Linked DNA regions of Homo sapiens: all the other regions are linked to region 7. The links are contacts of gene promoters, found by promoter capture Hi-C in blood cells and fetal thymus (Javierre and others, 2016). All regions are on one chromosome and are shown on one strand. Each heading gives the region's core, a stretch centred on a gene start or on the middle of the fragment in contact. The rest is flanking DNA. Distances are from core to core; before and after follow the strand shown.

The links. The method cuts DNA at HindIII sites, captures the fragments that hold promoters and counts their contacts. A CHiCAGO score of 5 or more calls a contact.
Region 1: a contact is called between a fragment that was not itself captured here and the fragment with the promoter of MED17 in region 7, in 5 of 17 cell types (M0 macrophages, total CD8 T cells, naive CD4 T cells and 2 more). The highest score is 7.6, in M0 macrophages.
Region 2: a fragment that was not itself captured here is called in contact with the fragment with the promoter of MED17 in region 7 in 14 of 17 cell types (naive CD4 T cells, megakaryocytes, M1 macrophages and 11 more); the score reaches 9.2 in naive CD4 T cells.
Region 3: a fragment that was not itself captured here is called in contact with the fragment with the promoter of MED17 in region 7 in 1 of 17 cell types (monocytes); the score reaches 6.3 in monocytes.
Region 4: a contact is called between a fragment that was not itself captured here and the fragment with the promoter of MED17 in region 7, in 1 of 17 cell types (non-activated CD4 T cells). The highest score is 6.5, in non-activated CD4 T cells.
Region 5: a fragment that was not itself captured here is called in contact with the fragment with the promoter of MED17 in region 7 in 8 of 17 cell types (activated CD4 T cells, M0 macrophages, naive CD4 T cells and 5 more); the score reaches 6.9 in activated CD4 T cells.
Region 6: a fragment that was not itself captured here is called in contact with the fragment with the promoter of MED17 in region 7 in 1 of 17 cell types (monocytes); the score reaches 6.8 in monocytes.

The regions. Positions count from the first base shown.
Region 1 is chr11:94,445,002-94,447,850 of GRCh38, reverse strand. MRE11 (MRE11 double strand break repair nuclease) reads left to right here. Exons shown (of 20, transcript NM_005591.4): 15 at 413-632; 16 at 1,958-2,041. Among named protein-coding and RNA genes, the nearest start is that of MIR548L, 20 kb to the left of the region's middle. The HindIII fragment of the contact is 1,345 bases long and covers 880-2,224 here.
Region 2 is chr11:94,477,293-94,480,219 of GRCh38, reverse strand. It overlaps MRE11 (MRE11 double strand break repair nuclease), which reads left to right. Exons shown (of 20, transcript NM_005591.4): 5 at 459-546; 6 at 1,344-1,485. Among named protein-coding and RNA genes, the nearest start is that of MIR548L, 12 kb to the right of the region's middle. The HindIII fragment of the contact is 1,738 bases long and covers 689-2,426 here.
Region 3 is chr11:93,238,684-93,241,805 of GRCh38, reverse strand. No RefSeq gene overlaps it. Among named protein-coding and RNA genes, the nearest start is that of SLC36A4, 42 kb to the right of the region's middle. The HindIII fragment of the contact is 2,897 bases long and covers 73-2,969 here.
Region 4 is chr11:94,547,528-94,550,259 of GRCh38, reverse strand. FUT4 (fucosyltransferase 4) reads right to left here. Exons shown (of 1, transcript NM_002033.4): 1 at 365-2,732. The region is part of intron 4 of PIWIL4-AS1 (PIWIL4 antisense RNA 1); the gene reads left to right. Among named protein-coding and RNA genes, the nearest start is that of FUT4, 5.0 kb to the right of the region's middle. The HindIII fragment of the contact is 1,621 bases long and covers 574-2,194 here.
Region 5 is chr11:94,531,465-94,534,460 of GRCh38, reverse strand. It overlaps C11orf97 (chromosome 11 open reading frame 97), which reads right to left. Exons shown (of 4, transcript NM_001190462.2): 4 at 2,338-2,565. The coding sequence ends at 2,561. Among named protein-coding and RNA genes, the nearest start is that of FUT4, 11 kb to the left of the region's middle. The HindIII fragment of the contact is 1,601 bases long and covers 891-2,491 here.
Region 6 is chr11:93,212,201-93,215,165 of GRCh38, reverse strand. No RefSeq gene overlaps it. Among named protein-coding and RNA genes, the nearest start is that of SLC36A4, 16 kb to the right of the region's middle. The HindIII fragment of the contact is 629 bases long and covers 1,110-1,738 here.
Region 7 is chr11:93,782,601-93,785,662 of GRCh38, reverse strand. MED17 (mediator complex subunit 17) reads right to left here and starts at 1,381. Exons shown (of 12, transcript NM_004268.5): 1 at 900-1,381. The coding sequence starts at 1,149. RefSeq lists silencers at 649-843, 845-974 and enhancers at 1,105-1,324, 1,266-1,560. The HindIII fragment of the contact is 2,360 bases long and covers 380-2,739 here.

The sequences.
Region 1 (2,849 bases), core at 303-2,802, 660 kb before region 7:
TTTATTTTTATTTTTGAGACAGGGTCTCTCTTTGTCACCCAGGCTGGAGTGCAGTGGTGTGATCATAGCTCACTGCAGCCTGTATCTCCTAGGCTCAAGTGATCCTCCTGCCTCAGCCTCCTGTGTAGCTCGGGACTACAGGTGCATGCCACCATGCCTAATTTTTTTTTTTTTTTTTTTTTTTTGTAGAGACGGGGTTTCGCTGTGTTGCCCAGGCTTGTCTCAAACTCTTGGGTGCAAGTGATCCTCCCGCCTCGGCCTCCCAAAGTGCTGAGATTACAGGCGTGAGCCACTGTGTCAGCCTCCTTTATGTTTTTATAGTATGATTAGTTCATGTCAATGCCTAAATTAATGATTTTTAGGATGGTACGTTATCTCATTGTGTGTACTTTCTCCTTCTTCTCCCTCTTAGGCTATGACCAGGGCCAGAGCACTCAGATCTCAGTCAGAGGAGTCTGCTTCTGCCTTTAGTGCTGATGACCTTATGAGTATAGATTTAGCAGAACAGATGGCTAATGACTCTGATGATAGCATCTCAGCAGCAACCAACAAAGGAAGAGGCCGAGGAAGAGGTCGAAGAGGTGGAAGAGGGCAGAATTCAGCATCGAGAGGAGGGTCTCAAAGAGGAAGAGGTGAGCACTGAGTTCAGTCCTGTGCACATTCACACTTGGCAGTTGAGTGGAAAATACAGAATTAGATCTTGTCAGAGTTGAATTATAAGTTTTATTTCTAAAACACGGTTCTTTAAAAATCTATTTTTATAATATATAAAGACAGTCTTTAAGGCAGTTCTGACATGTGCCTTTTACTTAAATAAATTTTGAATGGCCACATGCACTTAGGGTTTTAATTGTTCTTAGCACATACCTTATAAAAGCTTCACTGTGTTTGTCACGTAGTACCTTTTGGATACATTTAATGTCATATGTATTTTCACATGTGCAAAGTAATAGGCAAATATGAGTTGTTAAAGAAAATAGCTAAAAGCCTTTGGCAACAGGAGGAAAACTCCAGATCATACAATTATTATTTTTGTTACTGTCATAAGATACAAATACACATATGCTTATCAAGTAGTCTTTATAAAGTCAGTTTAAGAAAGAAAACTGCCCCCCAATTTGATTCCTAAAACTAGTCATTAACATAGTCAACATTGTATTTACTGTGAGACTATTGTCATTGAATAGTTCACGCCAATAGAAATTGGTCACTCAGTGACTTTCTCACACATTATGTCAGTTCATCTCTAAAGATTTTTTAAAATTGTTTTTATTAAATATGCATCCATAGGAATTTTAAGCTGGTGAAATGAATATTAATTTGGTTTAAAATCTCCAGGGAGAGAAATCCTCATCTTTTAATGATGATTATTTTCACTATTCTTACATTTACAAAATTTTTCCTTAAAAATTTTTATTTTTGTTTTTTAATTTTTCTTGAGATGGAGTCTTGTCTTTGCTCTGTTGCCCAGGCTGGAGTGCAATGGTGCGATTTCAGCTCACTGCAACTTCCGCCTCCCAGGTTCAAGCAATTCTCCTGCCTCAGCCTCCCAGGTAGCTGGGATTACAGGGGCCCATCATCATGCCAGTTAATTTTTGTATTTTTAGTAGAGGTGGGGTTTCACCATGTTGGCCAGGCTAGTCTTGAACTCTTGACCTCAAGTGATCCTCCCGCCTCTGTCTCCCAAAGTGCTGGGATTACAGGCGTGAGCTACCACGTCCAGCCTATTTCCTTACATTTTAATTGGATAAATTAAATTGGATAAACTGAAGTGTGGCCTAAAAGAATAGTCTCTGAAAATTGGTCAGACTCTAGATGTTTGTTCTTATATATATGTCTGGCTTTTTACAGACAAACTATTTGACATAAGTTTATTTAGCTTTCATTTTTTAGTGTTGTATGAAATAAACCTTAGCTGCTGATAGGCTTGTACATTGACTGTTCATTTTTCTAACAGCAGACACTGGTCTGGAGACTTCTACCCGTAGCAGGAACTCAAAGACTGCTGTGTCAGCATCTAGAAATATGTCTATTATAGATGGTGAGTATAGACTGCAAGTGATTATTTATAAATTCCAACATTAGAAAGACCAAGGTAATCACCATTGGTAGCCCTTATTTGTGTTGCAATCATTGGGAAGTTATAAGGGCAATTAGGATCACAGGATAAATTATTTTTTAAAAGATCTTTGCTATGCATTAGAGTTACTGAAGAGGGTAAGCTTTTAAAATCATGTTTTATAGGCCAGGCACAGTGGATCACACCTGTAATCCCAGCACTTTGGGAGGCCGAGACAGGCAGATCACGAGGTCAGGAGATCGAGACCAGCCTGGCCAACATGGTGAAACCCGGTCTCTACTAAAAATACAAAAATCAGCCAGGCGTGGTGGCACATGCCTGTAGTCCCAGCTACTTGGGAGGCTGAGGCAGGAGAATCACTTGAACCCAGGAACTGGAGGTTGCAGTGAGCCAAGATCATGCCATTGGACTCTACCCTAGCAACAGAGAGAGACTCCGTCTCAAAAACAAAACAAAACAAAACAAAAATTATGTTTTATAATTTCTTACTTTCAGACAAATGCTGTTTCTGTTTGGCAGAGAGACCCTGGAAACAGGAAAGTGAAGTAGTTGGTCACTATATGGACAGTGGTCGAAAGAGAGAGGAACTGTCTCTACTGTTTCCTTGCTTCCCCCATACTGCCCTGTCAGTCTCTGCTTTCCATATAGAGAAGTCATGTGACCTATATTTAAGAGAAATTATGGCTAGGCCCTTGGAATTAATTTGTGTATATCCTATGGTCTAAAAATTGGCCTCAAGGGGATCTGTTTAACTATTTTTAATATTATA
Region 2 (2,927 bases), core at 308-2,807, 690 kb before region 7:
AGAAGAGGAGCTGGATGGCTGGGGGCAGGGGCTGACAGGAGACTTTAATTTGAACAGGCAATAAGTGATAGAGCTGGGAGTTTTAATCTACCTCTTTGGGATTCTAAAGTATATGGATTTTCTTCCCTCCCCCCACTACGAATAAAAACCATATGCTAAGTTTTTAAAATTTTGAAGGCTTATTAACTTTTCATTAATTAGATATACTACTCATACATACCACAAGCACTGTTTATTATAGTTGGGGTTTCTTTAAAATGTAGTGCTTTGAGATATTTTCAAACTAATTGAAATGAATTGTCGCCTATGATTTTATTTTTTAAAGCTCTAAACTAGTGGTCATATGCCAATGTAGATTATGCAGTTTGCCTATGATTGCATTAATATTTTGGAGGAGAATCTTAGGGAAAACAGCTTTTGTCCCGTATGGAAATTTTAAGTAACTTTTTTTTTTTAAGGTTTCCATGGGTGAACTATCAAGATGGCAACCTCAACATTTCAATTCCAGTGTTTAGTATTCATGGCAATCATGACGATCCCACAGGGGTAATTATTGTTTTCTTAGAGTTTGTTGGAATTTTGGAAATGATCAGTTTAGTTTGTCTGTGGAAAGCATGCCTTCCCTTTTTCTCATTGTGTAGTCAAATTGAGTCAAAAGTCAAGTTGACTTTTCACATTCATACAAGCTTTTATACTGCTTTTTAGATTTTTTAAAAATCTGAAATAAGAATTGGTGTATGAGCTATGCTTTTATTTCATTAATACTGATGTTAACAATAAGAAGCCAGGAGTAGGAGTGAACACCTAACATCTGTATAGTGGTTTACAGTTTGTCAGTGTTTTTATAACTATCTTATAAAATCTCACTTTTAGGAAATGATTGTTCAAGACCATCTTTAAATCTAAATTAGATTATCTTATTACCTGTTTGATATGGAAGTAAGACTAGAGATCCTACAAGTATTTTTTCATTTTATCTGGTCATTAATATTATGAATCACTGATTATCTATGGTCTTTTTTCCCCAGGCTTTAAGACGGTTGCTTAATATTACAAAGCATTTATCTCATGGCTAATTTTTATTTTTTTGTGGCCAAGACATCATAAGTTTTGATGAGATATTAACCTTGCCTTTGGCATGTGATTCCAGTTGCTGTAGGTGATTTGTAGTACAAAAATGTAGCAAATACTTTTACTATTGTAATTTTGTTTTGAGAAGACACTATCCTCATCTATGTTTTTGTAAGTAGAATATGGAGTATGCTTTTAACAGGTGATACGATATTCATGCAGATACCTACTTTTACATACACACTAACATTCTTTGAAATTATTTTGCATAGGCAGATGCACTTTGTGCCTTGGACATTTTAAGTTGTGCTGGATTTGTAAATCACTTTGGACGTTCAATGTCTGTGGAGAAGATAGACATTAGTCCGGTTTTGCTTCAAAAAGGAAGCACAAAGATTGCGCTATATGGTTTAGGTAAGACAGTTTTATTTTACTGTTTATGTCCATGTGTGATTCTTTAAACAATTGAGAAATTTGGAGATAAGTTTGTATCTGTTTGGAAAAAATGGGGCAAACCTTATTCTTTATTGGTGACTATAAAAAATGATGGATGGTTTTGGTAAAAATTTTTGGTGAAAAAATGTCTTTTCGTTACTATTTATTATTTTGGGTTTTTTTTAGACTCAGGTGTAGAATCCTGAATGTTAGAATTATAGAATAATTAGCAAAACTGCACTTTGATATCTTGGAAGTCTTTGAAAGGTCTAATGCTTCACTGTACAATACCGCTAGCTTATAATTTTGTGCAGCTTTCATAATACCTCTGGCAAGTAGAAAAGCATCATGGTTATTTATATTTTAGAGATAAGGAAAATGAAATCTGGATGTTATATCTGATTCTGCAAGTGAAAGAGCAGGAAGTGAAATATACTTTTCTTAAAAAAGCTATTAACAGTTGTTTTAATCACTGCAGTGTTATTAGGGATCATATCTCCAGAAAATTGCCTTTCCTCCTCCATTCAGACTAAGGACAGATTCCATTATGCCTCAGTCACCACCAGAAGCACATCTCTCCAGTCATCCATTTTCTCCCAAACTCTTATCTTATCCTGTTCTATTATACCTTCCTTAACTGGACTCTGTCTCCACCCTGCACCCCTCCCTGTCCCCCAGCTCTTCATTATAAACTCTAGAACTCTTTTTATAATTATCAGATTCCTCATTATTATCAGTCTCTTCTCTGAATGTTACCTCCACTTTCTAACCTTCAGTGAAGCCCAGCTGTCCCCTGAGGTTCCTGTGTCCCATGCAGTTCTCTTACCCCTGGGCTTTTGGAAAGAAGCGGGGATCACTGTTCTCCTTGCTCCACCCACTGCTTCCTTTTCTGCCTGCAAACACACTGTTCCCTTTAAGCTTCTGCCATCTGGCTAAACCGCATTGCTTTTTCTCTCAGACTTTTTACCTACTTACCTACCTTCAATTTTGCCAGTGTTTTTAGTGTTTCAACACTCAAGTAGATTAATCTTCTAATGCCTTGGGCTTTGTGTGCCTTGACTTTTTTGTCTCCAGTTACATGTTCTACATTCCACCTCAGCCATGTATTCCATTGGCCACTCCTGTAGCATTCTCCTTGGGAGCTAGGCCACTTCTAACTTCTAGACTTCTACATTGTTGGCTTTTCTTCTGAGACCCTCTCTAATCCGTATATAAAGTAGCAGTGTTGTCCACCCTTTTAATTCCATAGTGTTAATTCGCCATCTTAGCATCCTGGCTTTTTCTCCTTTTATAATATTTAATATTTGTAACTATTTTGTTGACTTGTTTTTGTTAGTTTCTTTCACTAGATCAAGGTGAACCTGTGGAGTATGAGAATTGTTTGAAAGTCATTGAGTTATTTAAAAAGCACAATATATTAA
Region 3 (3,122 bases), core at 272-2,771, 540 kb after region 7:
GTGTCAAGTATTTCATTTGTAATGTCATTGGTAATGCCTTATGTGTATATTCATTCATTGAATCACAAAGCTTTATTGAGATCTACTTCTAGCCTGACACGATGCCTATTGGTTCATAGACTCCAGACAATTTTTTTTTTTTTTTTTTGAAACGGAGTCTCTCTCTGTCGCCTGGGCTGGAGTGCAGTGGCGCGATCTTGGCTTACTGCAAGCTCCATCTCCCGGGTTCACGCCATTCTCCTGCCTCAGCCTCCTGAGTGGCTAGGACTACAGGTGCCTGCCACCATGCCCGGCTAATTTTTTGTATTTTTAGTAGAGACGGGGTTTCACCATGTTAGCCAGGATGGTCTCGATCTCCTGACCTCGTGATCCGCCCGTCTCGGCCTCACAAAGTGCTGGGATTACCGGCATGAGCCACCTCACCCGGTCAACTCCAGGCAACATTTTTAAGCCCTCTCTGCATAGTATACAGTACCCAAGTTAAGAATCATTGATTTATATCACCTGGCCATAGTAATGTCTCTATGCTGAGAACTTCACACAAATACATTAGAGAGACACAGATTTTGCCACATTAGATGAAAAAGGCTGTGATGCAAAGCGATGTCGGTGTACACATAGAAGGAATAAAATGACATTTTTCTTTCAGAATATTGTCCTTTTTATTTGTCTAGCAGCCATTATTTATCTAAGATTCATCACAAGCATTGGACATTGCTCTGGTTCTCAAATCTATTTTATTTTTGTATAATAATTTTAATCTTGTGTATTTTATCAAGTTCATTTTCAGCTCTGCTCCTTCCTTCAGTGCAGCACAGGAGGTAAGAGAATAGGATGTAGAACAAATCTTCACTCTTTACTTCAACAAGTAACATCTCTCTCGATATCAGTGAATAATCTTTTGCAGACAAGCATCAGGAAACCTAGTTCAAACTGTTTTGCACATGAAACTGGTAAGTTGAGGAGGAACAGACACAGCTGAATCCAGGTGTAGCTTCATCTAGGATGTCAATCAATACTACTTTTTTTATTTTAACTTTTTTTAAGTTTTTAAAATTTTTGTGGGTACATAGTTGGTATATGTATTTATAGGGTACATGAGATGTTTTGATACAGGCATGCAATGTGAAGTAAGCACATTACGGAAATTGGGGTATCCATTGCCTCAACCATTTATCCTTTGAGTTACAAATAATCCAATTACACTCTTTAAGTTATTTTAAAATGTACAACTAAGTTATTGACTATAGTCATCCATTTGTGCTATCAAATAGTAGGTCATATTCATTCATTTTTTTGTGTGTGTGTGTTCATTAACTATCCCACCTCCCTGCCAGCCTGCCACTATCCTCCCCAGCATCTGGTAACTGTCCTTCTACTTTCCATGTCCATGAGTTCAATTGTTTTGATTTTTAGATCCCACAAGTAAGTGAGAACCTGAGATGTTTGTCTTTCTGTGTCTGGCTTATTTCACTAAACGCAATGATCTCCAGTTCAATTTCTATTATTTCAAATGACTGAATGTCATCTTTTTTTTTTTATGGCTGAATAGCACTACATACACAATACCTCTTGTGCGCTTGCTCTCCCCTCTCTTATCTTTGCTTTCTTCTACGTTAGTTTCATTCTCAGTGAGATCATATCCATGTGATGGCAGCAATATCCCTGACTAGTACAGATTTATATTCAAACAGTGTGAGAATCCCAGAAGAAAGATAGCAGCCCCTCATTGGAGAATGAAGTATCTATGTCATAAGAACACATTCCTCTGACCTATAACACCTAGAACACTGAGATAATTTAAAAATATATAGAGAGAGTCTGGCAGAGATCATCTTGCCAGAGGAATACTGAAAAATTTTACAGGATACAAAATTATACTATTTCCAATCTCTTCCAAACAGCCATATATTCTCCCTAATATATACCCCTTCACCAAAAGAATGAAAGTAAAAAAGCAAAAAGAAGAAAAACAACATTATAAAAATTATATTATCCAGGGCCTTTTATTTTCTTTAATCACTCAAGATTCTATGACTAAAAATTAAGTTTTCAGAAGAAAGTTCTTCTGGTTTTCCCTTATCAGTGGAAGTGGTTCCAATCAGGAAATGTTGAAACTAACAGTGCTATTCAGGAGCAATCAGTTATTTATAAACCACAAAAGGAAAAGACAACAACCCAGCTATTCAAAGTCGTCTACCTTTAGAAGATTACACAGAGTCTGATAGAAAGAAGCAGATTCAGAAGTTTTCTGCTAGTTGAGTTAGTAACCTACCTAATATAACAAGTATCAATCATTGGCATATTCATTTTATCCTTCAAAATGAATTATAGAGTACTTACTAATACTTAAGCATAAAGACATGCACTGCAAGTGATTAGCTATGGTTTTGGTATAATCATCCCTTCTGAACCAACATACTATTCATGTTTCACTCAATAAATATTAAGCTCCCATTCTACACCAAGCCCTGACTAAATGCTGGGGATACCATGTTGATTGGAGAGAGAAAGTCCCTGCCTTCATGGACATTGCATTCTGATGAGCGAAACCTGGTGAATGCCTTAGCCAGAATGTCTAGCATTCTGCCTGTGCTGGTACTTGTCTGGAATTTTTCATTTCTCCTATCCTGCTGTTAGATGTTACACTTCTTTGTTTCACTCAAAGTGCTGCTCTAGCTTAGTCCTCAGCATTCCACTGCAGATGAATTGCTTCCCTGTGATTAGGCTGGTTTGCAGAGTTCTCAGACTTAAGATGGCTGAAATTTCACACCTTTGCATGGTAACCACACGCATTCCATCACATGCACTTCTATTCCTTTATTTCTGTTCCTATTCACTATGAGAGAAACCCACATAATGGCAGGTATAGTGTCCCTCAAGTATGAGTGTACTCTGAAAGAAAATGCTCTCTGCTCATGAACACCTTCTGCAAAGATCATTTTTTTCCAAAGGGGCTTTTATAAGCTTCCCTGAATTAAATGGAAGAAAAAAACATCTCTCTTTGGAGCAATAGCCTGAAGATATCCTCCTTTGTCAGAAATTGTTTTCACTATGATCCCACTATCAAGTATATCCCATTCACCATCCCTGCATAAATCCCTGTTCTGTAGGTTAAAAGT
Region 4 (2,732 bases), core at 135-2,634, 760 kb before region 7:
TGTTCCCAGTTCTGATCCTACTCTTTTTAAAATGGCATTTAATTTAGTGAACAGGAGCTAGAGACAATACATGGAGGGCATCACATCAGAGCACTCAGGAAAATAAACTGGACTGAGAGAAAGGAGTATACTACTTATGCCCTTGGAGATGATTCCTCAGAATAAAGTGGAAAAGACAGGCAAGAAAGAACAAGAGGACAGGCTGAATTGGACTTTGTGCAACACAGAAGAGGCAAAGCCATCACATTCCAATTACCAATCTAGAACTAGTGAACTTACAGAAACTGCCCCAAGCCAAGAAATATCCCATGGGTGACGACTGAACACATTAGTGCATGGAGGATATACATTATAAACAGAGTCATTTTCCATCTCATTATTTTAATCATTTTGTCAAAAAATCTGAACATGTGTACATAAATACTTGATTTGTTAAAAGAATGTGTAGCATAGAAATCCCTGAGACACATTCAAAAATGACTTGACATCTTGACATGTATTCAATGCAAGTATTCACCAAACTAAATACCAAGGACTTGGCTCCTTTCCCTGATATTTGAGGCATATAAAGCTTTAAAAATATATATAATATACTATATATATAATTTACATCTTTAAAGTTAAATTATATTTTCTTTCTCTGATTCCTGGTTTTCTGCCAGTTTACTGCTCCTGCATATTGTCAGTTCCAGACTGTAAGGAAGCCACATTGGAAAGCAGATAAGCACTTTCAACCTTAGGGTGCCAGTTAGTAGAATGATAGCACGTGGAACTAGGAGGTCCCAACAGATGATTTTGTCTAACCCACTCATTTTGCAGTTCAGGTGACAGAGGCTCAAAGAGGTTGTGATTTGCAGAAGCATGGCTGGTTCTGCCACTGCTATTGTAATGTTATGCAAGTCCTTCAGTGGGCCTGGACCTTGGCTCCTTCCTCGGTAAAATGGACTGATGGTAATCACAGCGAATATTTTCCAGGTGCTTCCTACATGCCAGGCACTATCCTGAGTACTTCAAGTGTCTAATCTATCCTCTCAACACCTCCATAAATTATATATGCAAAGCGTAAAATATTTACTCCCTGGAAAAACGTTTGCCAATCCCTGGTTTAGATCCTTGAAAATTTAGAACATCTTATAATTATATAGCACTTTACAATATACAAAGCACCTTGGCATACATCATCACATTTAATCTTTGTTTTGTAGGGGGATAGGCATTCATGCATTGTAAAGGAGAAAGCTAAAACTCAAGAGTTTAAGTAACTTGCTTCATCAAGGCCACAGAGTCATACCCAGGTTCTGACTCCAAACTGCATGCTCTTTACATGAAACTCCTCTGTCTCCCCTAAATTACTGCTAGGAAAAGACTTGGAAACTGGAAAGAACTTGTGAATACTGAAAGCAAGTCAGACCGTCTTCTGTTACAAATGTCATTCCAGGTGCATTCATGTAATTAGAGTCATCAAGTACTAAAAATACTAAATTTGTAATAAATTTGAGGGAAAAGCCTTAAAGGAGGACATGACAATCATAGGAAAGGCATTTTGAAATACATACAGTGCACCGATATGCATTTTTCTTAAGGTATGTTAGAGCTGAACCTACTCAATTTAATATATGCAAAATAAAATGAGCAATTGCCACATTCATCTCGCTCTCTGATGAGATTAGTGTTAAATTGTTCCACATTAACAATGTGTATGTGAATAAAAATGCAATGGCTGGGCACGGCGGCTCACACCTGTAATCCCAGCTCTCTGAGAGGCCGAGGCAGGTGGATCACAAGGTCAGGAGTTCAAGACCAGCCTGCCCAACATGGTGAAACGCAGTCTCTACTAAAAATACAAAAAATTGGCCAGGCGTGGTGGCAGGCGCCTGTAGTCTCAGCTGCTCGGGAGGCTGAGGCAGGAGAATCGCTTGAACCTGGGAGGCGGAGGTTGCAGTGAGCCAAGATCACGCCACTGCAGTCCAGCTGGGGCTACAGTGCAAGACTCCGTCTCAAAAAAAAAAAAATGCAATTATACCTTCCTCATGCTAATTATTCCATAAATAATATGGTTAGTTCTAAATGGACTTAATACTAAAAAAAAATTGGTAAAATAATAGATACCAATTTATAGAGCTTTACCAAAACGAACCAAAAAAATATTTTCAAAGAAAGCCTAGGTGCTTCTTCCTAGTTTGCAAGTCAAGCTTAATCTAAATGGTGATTTAGATTATCCTTTTAATTTATTCTACAACATACCTTAAGATATAATTTTAGACCTATAAATAGATATGAGGACATCCTGAAATCACTGCAAGCAAAGAAGGAAGATATAAAATCATCAATTGGGTGCCTGCTATTTTAGGTACTTTCACTTACTTCCTAAAGTGCTCAAAATGAGCTTGTGAAGTATTTTCGCCAGTCATTTTATAGATGAGGACGCTGAGGCTCAGGACTACTACTAATTTACCCAATGTCACATAGCTGGAATTCAAATCTAAACTAGGTTACCTTCAAAACCTGAACTCTTTCCCACTGCCCCATGTGGAATCCCGGTAACACCAAGATCACTGACTGTTATCTCATAAAAACTCATTTTAAGAACTGAACTTTTATCTTTATTCGGTGGCTGGCACTTTGTAATTGTAATTCTGCCCACACTTTAATACTTTAATGAGGACATTTTCTCCACAGCTTTTCATTTGTCCTCTCAAGAAAGTGAATTGAAGCACCTAGATTTAAGTGAG
Region 5 (2,996 bases), core at 442-2,941, 750 kb before region 7:
CTTATGACACCAAGTTATCCAGTATCTGCAGTGACTATTTCTGGCATGAATTGAGGAAACTCTGAGGAAACAGAAACTGAGGACCCTAAGACAGAAGCAGAAACTGAGACAGAAATAGAAACTAAGGGCCCTGAAACTCAAGGACCCTGGAGCCAGGAGGCAGATAAAATGAAAAGGGAAAGTGAGCAAGTTGCAAACATGTTTGGAAAAAACAGCATTTTTGTTTTATTCCAGATAATAGTAGGAGTGTTTCTAGGGTATTACATCATTAAGTATGAAAATGACTGTTGGCTTAAGATTGCTGTATATTTTTATAATTTTAAAGAAACCTCCTTGTAATCCTGCTTTATTAAGAAAAATACTTATAGAGTTAAAAAGCAAAACAAAACAGTTGCATCATATTATATAGTAACTTTAAAAAATCATCTCCTATCGGGCATTTTAGGTGGCTTCAGTTATTCACTATTATAAATAATGCCTGTACATGAATCTAGTTGGGAAAATACGCAATGGGGCAATGAAGAACAGAATTCAACTACAAAAGGAACCAGGTCCCCAGAGTGGAATAAGAATGAAACTTTAACACAGAAACAGTGCCATGAGAACAACTCTTAGTAGTAGAGGATGGTCAGAAAAGGAGAGACCAATTCAGAGCACCCAGCCCAGGCAGCAAATCTGAAAATAAATGACAAGGAGCTTGTTTATTGGCAGGAATATAGTGGAAGTGAGAAAGGAAATCCCTGAGCACGTTTATAAAGTCATACTGGGAACTCAAGTAAGAACAGGATATAATTTCCAATGGATTAACAAAAGTCTCCCACCCATTGCACTTTCTGTGTGACATCCTAACATACATGCGATGAGGTTGGGTGTAAGAATTTTTAGAAGCTTAAGATTTTAGATTTCTACAAATAGTAAATGCTTTGCCCTAACTAGGCAGTTTTGGGTGTTATATTTCTTAACCAATTTCAGATGTAATCCCTCAGTTTTAGGCATTGCCCTGTAACACTGTTTTGAAGTAGCCAGTGATGAAAAAGTTCCATAAACAAGGTGGTGGCTAGAATTGGCTTACATGTAGGATCTCATCTAGCAGGCAGTAGCTAAATGGAAAATTTTATATTAAATCTGGAAAGGTTTGGATCTTGACTCAAGATTATTGACTGTTTCATAGTGCAAATATTTTTAAGTAGGGAAGGGACATACTCAGTCAAAAAATCTGTTGACTAGATTTGTTACATTAGAAACAATTATGAACTTGGGAACAGGGAACTGAAGTAAGTTTTATGAGCTGAGTCTAGAGAGGAAGGAGAATGAAAAGTGTATAACCAGAATACTAGAAAAAAATAACTTTGTAAGGGGTAGGGGCTGGGAGTGTAAACAAATCACAGCAGTTATGTATAAAATGAAAAATATGAAAAACCCAAATATTAAAAAAATAGAGTAATAAATAAATAAGTTCAGAACAAATATATTAAGAATTTATGTAATTATTTAACATGATATTTTAATGAATGGGACAGTATGTAATTCAATAGTTCTTTCTGGAAATGGAATTACAGATGAGTTTTTTTCCTTTACATATCTTCATTTTCCAATTTTTCTATATTGCACATATATTACTTTGACAAATGGTGGAAAGGGAAGGAGTTTTTTTTTCTTCTTTTTAACTTGGCAGTATTATTTAAATACTTTTTTTTTTCTTTTCGAGACAGTGTCTCACTCTTTCACTCAGGCTGGAGTGCAGTGGTGTGATCTTGGCTCACTGCAACCTCCGCCTGCTGGGTTCAAGCGATTCTCCTGCCTCAGCCTCCCAAGTAGCTGGGATTACAAGAGTGTGCCACCATGCCTGGCTAAGTTTTGTATTTTTAGTAGAGATAGGGTTTCACCATTTTGGCCAGGCTGGTCTTGAACTCCTGACCTCAAGTGATCGGCCCGCCTTGGCATTCCAAAGTGCTGGGATTACAGGTGTGAGCCACTGTGCCCAGCCTAAATACTTTCTTTTTTAAGATCTTACCATAAATTTCCTGGCTCCTTACTATTTAGTGAACAAGTTCTAGAGAAATGATTAGCTCTACCAAGGTTACCATAAAAATGTTTGTCTCTGAGTCAAAGACTTTTCTTCTGTCATTCATTTACTCACCATTATCTGTATCTGGATTTAGTTCTGTTTTTTAAAAATGGGCTAACACATTATGCTGTAGTAAAGGGTTAAGGTTTATAATGTTTGCCTTGAAGTAAATACTCGGTAAACGTGCCTTTGCTTCATCATTGTTTCACATATTTAATAAAATAACCTGAATTAGAAGCCAAATGAATTATAACTGTGACAACTAAAAATAAGTATATTTTCCTTTATTGTTTTCAGGTACTTACTGAACATTACCAATAGTCTTTCATTACTTTGGATTAATTTATAGATAGGTATTAATACCAATAATAGTAATTACAGGCTATCATTTTTTTGCACACATCTTAAATCCTGAAACAAGCTTGAGTTTCTTCTCCGTTCTTCAGACATCAGCAGAAAGAGGTTCCTTCTTAATGGAAAATCTAATTCATCTTATCCTAGAGTTAAAAAAAAAAGTGAAAAAATAAGTGTTTTACTTCGGGGAGATGCTCTTTAATCTCACCCATTTTAATCTAAATTTGACTTAATGTTCCCATTTGATTGAGCAGAATGTAAGAGCCACACCCATGTCATCCCAGTAACCAGAAAAGCCACTACTTAGTCTTCCAAACCCTCACGACTGAAGCATAGTTTCCGGACAAGCAGCATCAGCATCACCTGGGAGCTGGATGGAAATACAGAATCTCAGACCCCACCCCAGACCTATGGTATCAGAGTCTGAATTTTATTGAGATACCATGTGAATTGTAGGCACATTCAAGCTTAGCACCAGACTAGACAATGCTTTTTTTTTTTTTTTTTTTTTTGGCTTGTTTTGTGGCACAGAATAAGAAGGAAACGATAAAAGGTTTTTTGTCATCAACCATTA
Region 6 (2,965 bases), core at 175-2,674, 570 kb after region 7:
GCGCCTGTAGTCCCAGCTACTTGGGAGGCTGAGGCAGGAGAATGGCGTGAACCCGGGAGGCGGAGCTTGCAGTGAGCCGAGATCCCGCCACTGCACTCCAGCCTGGGCGACAGAGCGAGACTCCGTCTCAAAAAAAAAAAAAAAAAAAAAAAAATTAGCAGGGCATGGTGGCGTGTGCCTGTAATCCCAGCTACTCAGGAGGCTGAGGCAGGAGAATCGCTTGAACCTGGGAAGTGAAGGTTGCAGTGAGCTGAGATCACACCACTACACTCCAGCCTGGGCAACTCTGTCTCAGGGGGAAAAAAAAAAATTCATCAGATTGGAATTGGGATCCTGGGTTTGGTTCTTGTGACTACTAAGCCTTAGAATTTACTTCTTCTCTGAACCTCAGTTTGTTCATTTGTAAAATATTGATCATAATATTTATTTCTGTAGGGTTATTGTGAAGATTAAATGAGATAACGTATAAGAAAACACTAAGCATGATGCCTAGAACAGTGAATGTTAAATAATTCTCAATCTGAATGGGTCACTGATGTTGTTTTGGAGTATGCCAAATCCTGTAATTCTAGGTATTTTGGTTTCCTTATAGAGCCACATTTGAAAGATCACCAATGGAGATAAGGTCAAACTTGTTAGATTGTAAATAGCCTCTTGACATAAGTAATGGAACCCAAAGACCTAAATAGAGGATGGATGGATTAGTATCCATTTATAATACACAAAATGAACTGTTCTTGGTCAATTTCTCACTTCTTTGACTTAATACAATGGCCTATTATTAAGTAATCAATCATTGATCTAATTTATTATACAATGAATGCAGTCTATTGAGAAAGTCAGATCAAAATGCTTAGCTGTTTTATGAGGGAAAAATCAGATGAGGAACAATTGTGTGTTATCACTAAAAAACAAAATTAACAGGAACAGTATCCTATAAATGAAGCATAATGTGATTGGCTACCAGCCTGGTCTTAAAGAAAATGGGTTGGTGACATTTTCTTAAATGGTACCTTTTTCCAAGGACCTCTTATCTCAAAATCTTCTGAGGGCATGGGCTAGAATGCAGTCCTCCAACTGGAACTTCTCCTTTTTCCTGAATGGAAGCTTTCTAACTTCCATGCCACTTATTTTTATTACCAAAAAGCACATATATGTTGGTGTTTATTTTCTCTGATCAGTTCTATGGGGAATCTATATCTCTTAAGCAGATTTCCCAAATGAGTATGGAACTATTCTTTCCCAATGTGGTTGGTATTGTCAACAAGGTTATTAAATTGTGAGCAAGCTCCTTGAATAATCATGAAAAGTGTCCCAGGTAGCAGGAATTCCAGGATTCCTCATGCATAACATGTGTCTCAGGTGACCTACTTACCACAAGTAAGTCTTTCACACACTCCTTTTGAACTGTGATGAAAGTAAACTATACAAAAACTGACAGGTACAGCCTGTCAAATTAAATCCCAAACTAGACCTTGATGTTAAAATCCTGAAATAGAGAGGACTTATCAAGTTAAATTTACATGTGAGGATCATGAGTCCTTAGCATCAAGAGAAAACCCAGACTTTTGTACTCGGCATGATAATAGTTTTATTTGAAGACAACACAAGTGAAATAATTTCCTTGCAAGTTAATGTCTAACCAATACATAATGCTTAGAATGGAAAGAAGCAAATTTCGTAAAGCACCCTTTTTCTTTTGAGCCTTCGGGAGTACACTTGAGATTTATTATAAGCTTTAAAGCCTTTTACCAGTCATGTTAAATACCAAAGGGAATAACTTACATGTGGGAAAATAAAAGTGTCCTTTCCAGCACTCACCATAAGTCACTTTTTTTTTTTTTTTTTTTGTGAGACGGAGTCTCGCTCTGTCCCTCAGGCTGGAGTGCAGTGGCATGATTTCAGCTCACTGCAACCTCTGCCTCCCAGGTTCAAGCGATTCTCCTGCCTCAGCCTCCTGAGTAGCTGGGACTACAGGCGCATGCCACTATGGCTAATTTTTTGTGTTTTTGGTAGAGACAGGGTTTCACCGTGTTAGCCAGGATGGTCTCAATCTCCTGACTTCGTGATCCACCCACCTCGGCCTCCCAAAGTGCTGAGATTATAGGCGTAAGCCATTGTGCCCGGCCAAGTCACTTTTTTATTGTCCTTCAAAGAGTAGTATTTTCAGAAGACAATGCTTAATATGTTGGTTGTGGCATTTATGTTGGAATTAACCGCCATCAGTGAAGCTCAGTTACCTGATTTCAGGCTGATCTTCTGAATCTTTCATTAGCTATATGAAAATGGATAGACAGAAATGTACAATGTTGTAATGACTAAATCACACCACTGACCAATGGTCAGAACTGTGAGTGGCTCTCACAACCTGTCAGCTTAGCTGCTTAGGATCTCAAGAAGCTATGAGGCAGAGTGGATAATAGTATATGTCCTAAAGTTGAAATTAGATTTGGTTTTGATCTGTGAAATTTTGGGTAAGTCTCTGAGTCTGTCTAAGCTTGTCTTTTCTTTCTTTCCATTTCTAATTTTACTGAGGCATAATTGATGAAAACTATATATATTTACAGTGTCCAATATGATCTTTTGTTATATGCATACATTGTGAAAATGATGACCAATATTAAGCTAATGAACATATCCCTCACCTTGCATAGTTATCTTTATTGCTGAATGTGTGGAGAGAACATTTAAGATCTACTCTCAGCAAATTTCAAGTATAAACTCGAGAATTATTACCTGCAGTCATCATGCTGCATAACTGAGACTTTGTACTCTTTCACCAATATCTCCCTATTTCCTCCACCCCCAGCTCTTAGCAACTACCGTTCTACTCTCTGCATCTATGAGTTCAACTTCTTAAGATCCCAATGTAAGTAAGATGATGCAGCATTTTTCTTCTATGCCTGGCTTATTTCACTTAGCAAAGTGGCCTCTAGGTTCATTCATATTGTTAGAAATGACGGGA
Region 7 (3,062 bases), core at 132-2,631:
ATTTCTTCTAACACTTTGTTTTACTTTCTTCATTTGGCACTTCAATCCTCAAAAATTACTGTGGAAATAATTTTTGTGTGAGGTATAAAGTAGTATTTACCTTTTTTTGCAAATAGACCCCTAATAATCCTAACAGCACTGCCCTGAAATGACATCTTTAAATTCCCATTTACACTGGGTGTGCTGCATAACTAAATTAAGAATTTTGATTTTTTTTTCAAAAATCCTTGACAATAATGAGAATCTGAAACCCACTCATTATTTCTTCACTTCCCTCCTAGTCTCCTCCCTTCCAGTTTTGCTTTCCCTATAATTCATTTATTAGAAAGCATCTAGAGTAAACTTTAACAAAACCATCTCTACTTATCCTGCAAAAGCTTTCAGTGGTCTTAACACTAGTCAAACGCTTATCCCGGCCTACTGGGTTCTACATGATCTGGACCCGCCTACCTCTTGGACCTCGTCACACATTTCAGTCAAAACAGACCTCTTTTCTGCAGGTGCTACTATCATCATTCACACCGCACAAGGATGCAAAGTAACTCGCCCAAGGTCACACAGCCGGCAAGGGGCAGAGCCCCGATCTAGGGCTCTTTTAGCCACTAAGTGTGCTACATTAAAGGCCCTCTACAGAGAAGCATTCATTTAAACATTTCACGGTTTGACAGTGTCTCTAAACGCTGCCATTCAAGGAGACCCGCAGGAGTATTACGTAAAGTCGTGTCCTACCTTGTCCGGCAGCAACAAAAAGATGACGACCAAGTATCCTTACGCTTCCGCTAGAGGGACACTCAAAAGTTCTCGCACGCACAAGATCACCCCCATCGCGGGAGAGGCGGAGGCCCGCGCGGGTGCTGGGACCCAGACCGGGGGACTCGGGCAGCGGATGCAGGCCTTACCTTCCTCGTCGTCCTGGTCTGCGCTGGACCCGGCGCCCGGCCACTCCTGCGCGTCGCCCTCGGTCCCCGCCGCCTCCTCCTCCTCGGAGCCCGAACCCTGGCTGAAGTCTATCCGCTGGGCCAGACGCGCCAGATTCTGCGACATGGACAGCGGGGGCAGGTACGTCTCGGTGCCATCCAGGCCCACCTCATGGACCTGCTTCTCGCAGGCCGATTCGATGCTGATCCGCACTGCGCGCACCCCGGACATGCTGGCTGCGTCGGCCAGCGGTGGGAGGACCCCCCACGAGCCAAAAAACGAGGTACGAAGAGGAGGCTTCCCTGCGGAGAGCCGGGAACTCAGAAGCCCGCAGCCGCGGTGCCTCAGAAGACCCTCGGGAAACCGAACGCAACGCTCAGACTGGAAACAAAGGAGCTGGCCCAGCAACTTTCCCAGAACGCACCGCAAGCTCCCTCCTCGGTAAGTCTTTCGGAGCAAAACTGGGCAGGCGCGGAAGCTCCAGGGTTCCCTAGAGCGCTTCCGGTGAATCACGGTGCAGGGTGGGGTAAACTTCCGGGCCTATAAGAGGCGTGGCCGGCAGAGGGAGGGAAAGAGCGGTTTGGGAGCCGAGAGTGTGGCGGGTATATTCCTTGCTTTTTAAGCCTGCGTTTGTTTAAAAAGTGGATGAGGAAAGAAAGCTGCAGAGGCTAGAAGAGTTAAGGAAAAGGAAATTAATGGATCCTTGGATCTTAGCAATGAGAGTCCTGTTGAGAGAACTGAGATCTGGTGGCGCGCGCCTGTGGTCCAGCTACGCGGGTGGCTGAGGCGGGAGAATGGCTTGAGCCCTGGAGATGGAGGCTGCAGTGAGCCGAGATCTCACCGCTGCATTCCAGCCTAAGCAACAGAGTGGGATCCTGCCTCAAAACAAAAGTTATTTTAAATTAGCAAGAAATTTTTTAAAGAAACACTATCTGAAGAGTTAGAAATTAAGGGCATGGCTTGGGGGAAACAATCGTGCTTATCACCACTTAAAATTATACTACGTAATTATTTGGTTTCCTGTTAGTTATAACTCTATGACAGCCAATATCTGCAGCAGACATAATAGACTCTGGCATGTAGTAAGTGCTTAATATTTATTTTATGCCCGAGTAACAGAATAAATAATGTTGATCTCGCTTTTTTATTAGTGATGGGGTCCCACTATGTTGCCCAGGCTGAGTGCAGAGGTTATTCACAAGTGCTGTCAGCACGCTACAGCCTGGAGCTCCTGGGCTCCAACGATGCTCCTGCCTTAGCCTCCTGAGGAGCTGGGACTATAGGAGCGTGTCACCATGCCTGGCCTGCAAATAATATTTAAAAGATTAAGAAGAAGTGGTATAACTTCAGTCTTTGGGTCTCCAAGAACGTATTTCATTAGTAGGAATTCCACAGACAAAGATGGATTATTTTATATTACAAACCTCTATATTTCGTTTAAGGAATTATATATACCGTTTATCATGAGTGTTTGCCAGGTTTTGTTCTGACCAAGATATATCTAGGTTTTGAACTACTTTCCTAAGGTATTTAGGAAAATACGGTTGCCCTGGTGTCAGTCCCTGCTGAAGAAGAAAGTAGATGGCCGTGTGTGGAGGGGGTTGAATTTTCATGAGAGAAACCTATTTCTGGCAAGCTGTACAGTCTGTCGCCCAATCATGTTCGAGAACCACTGTACTTGCTTTTCGTGTAAATTTGTTTAAAAATTTTTTTTAACTTTATTTTAAAATCTGATTAATAGCCAGGCGCAGTGGCAGTCTAATAGTGCAGACAAAAACAAGACAACAACAAATGATTATGATTCCTAGAATAAGCAAAGCTTTTGCCACCAAGTCTTCAAGATCAAAACTAGCTGCTTAGCCAGTTGTTTAAAGATGTGTTGGATCTGAAAGGTTAGTTGTTAAGGTTTTCATATTATCCATTAACGTAGTGATATTATCTGATTCATCTGGGATACAGACATAACACACAGTTTTTATGATAATGCAAGTTCCTCCCTGGGCTTCGGTGAGTATGTCAAAAGCCATACGGTTTTGTAATAATGGCCTTTTCCATAAGAATAACTATTGTTTAATAATGGAATACTTATGTAGCTATCTTTTGGGTATAATTGGTTAGGACCTCTATATGCCAAATAACATCTT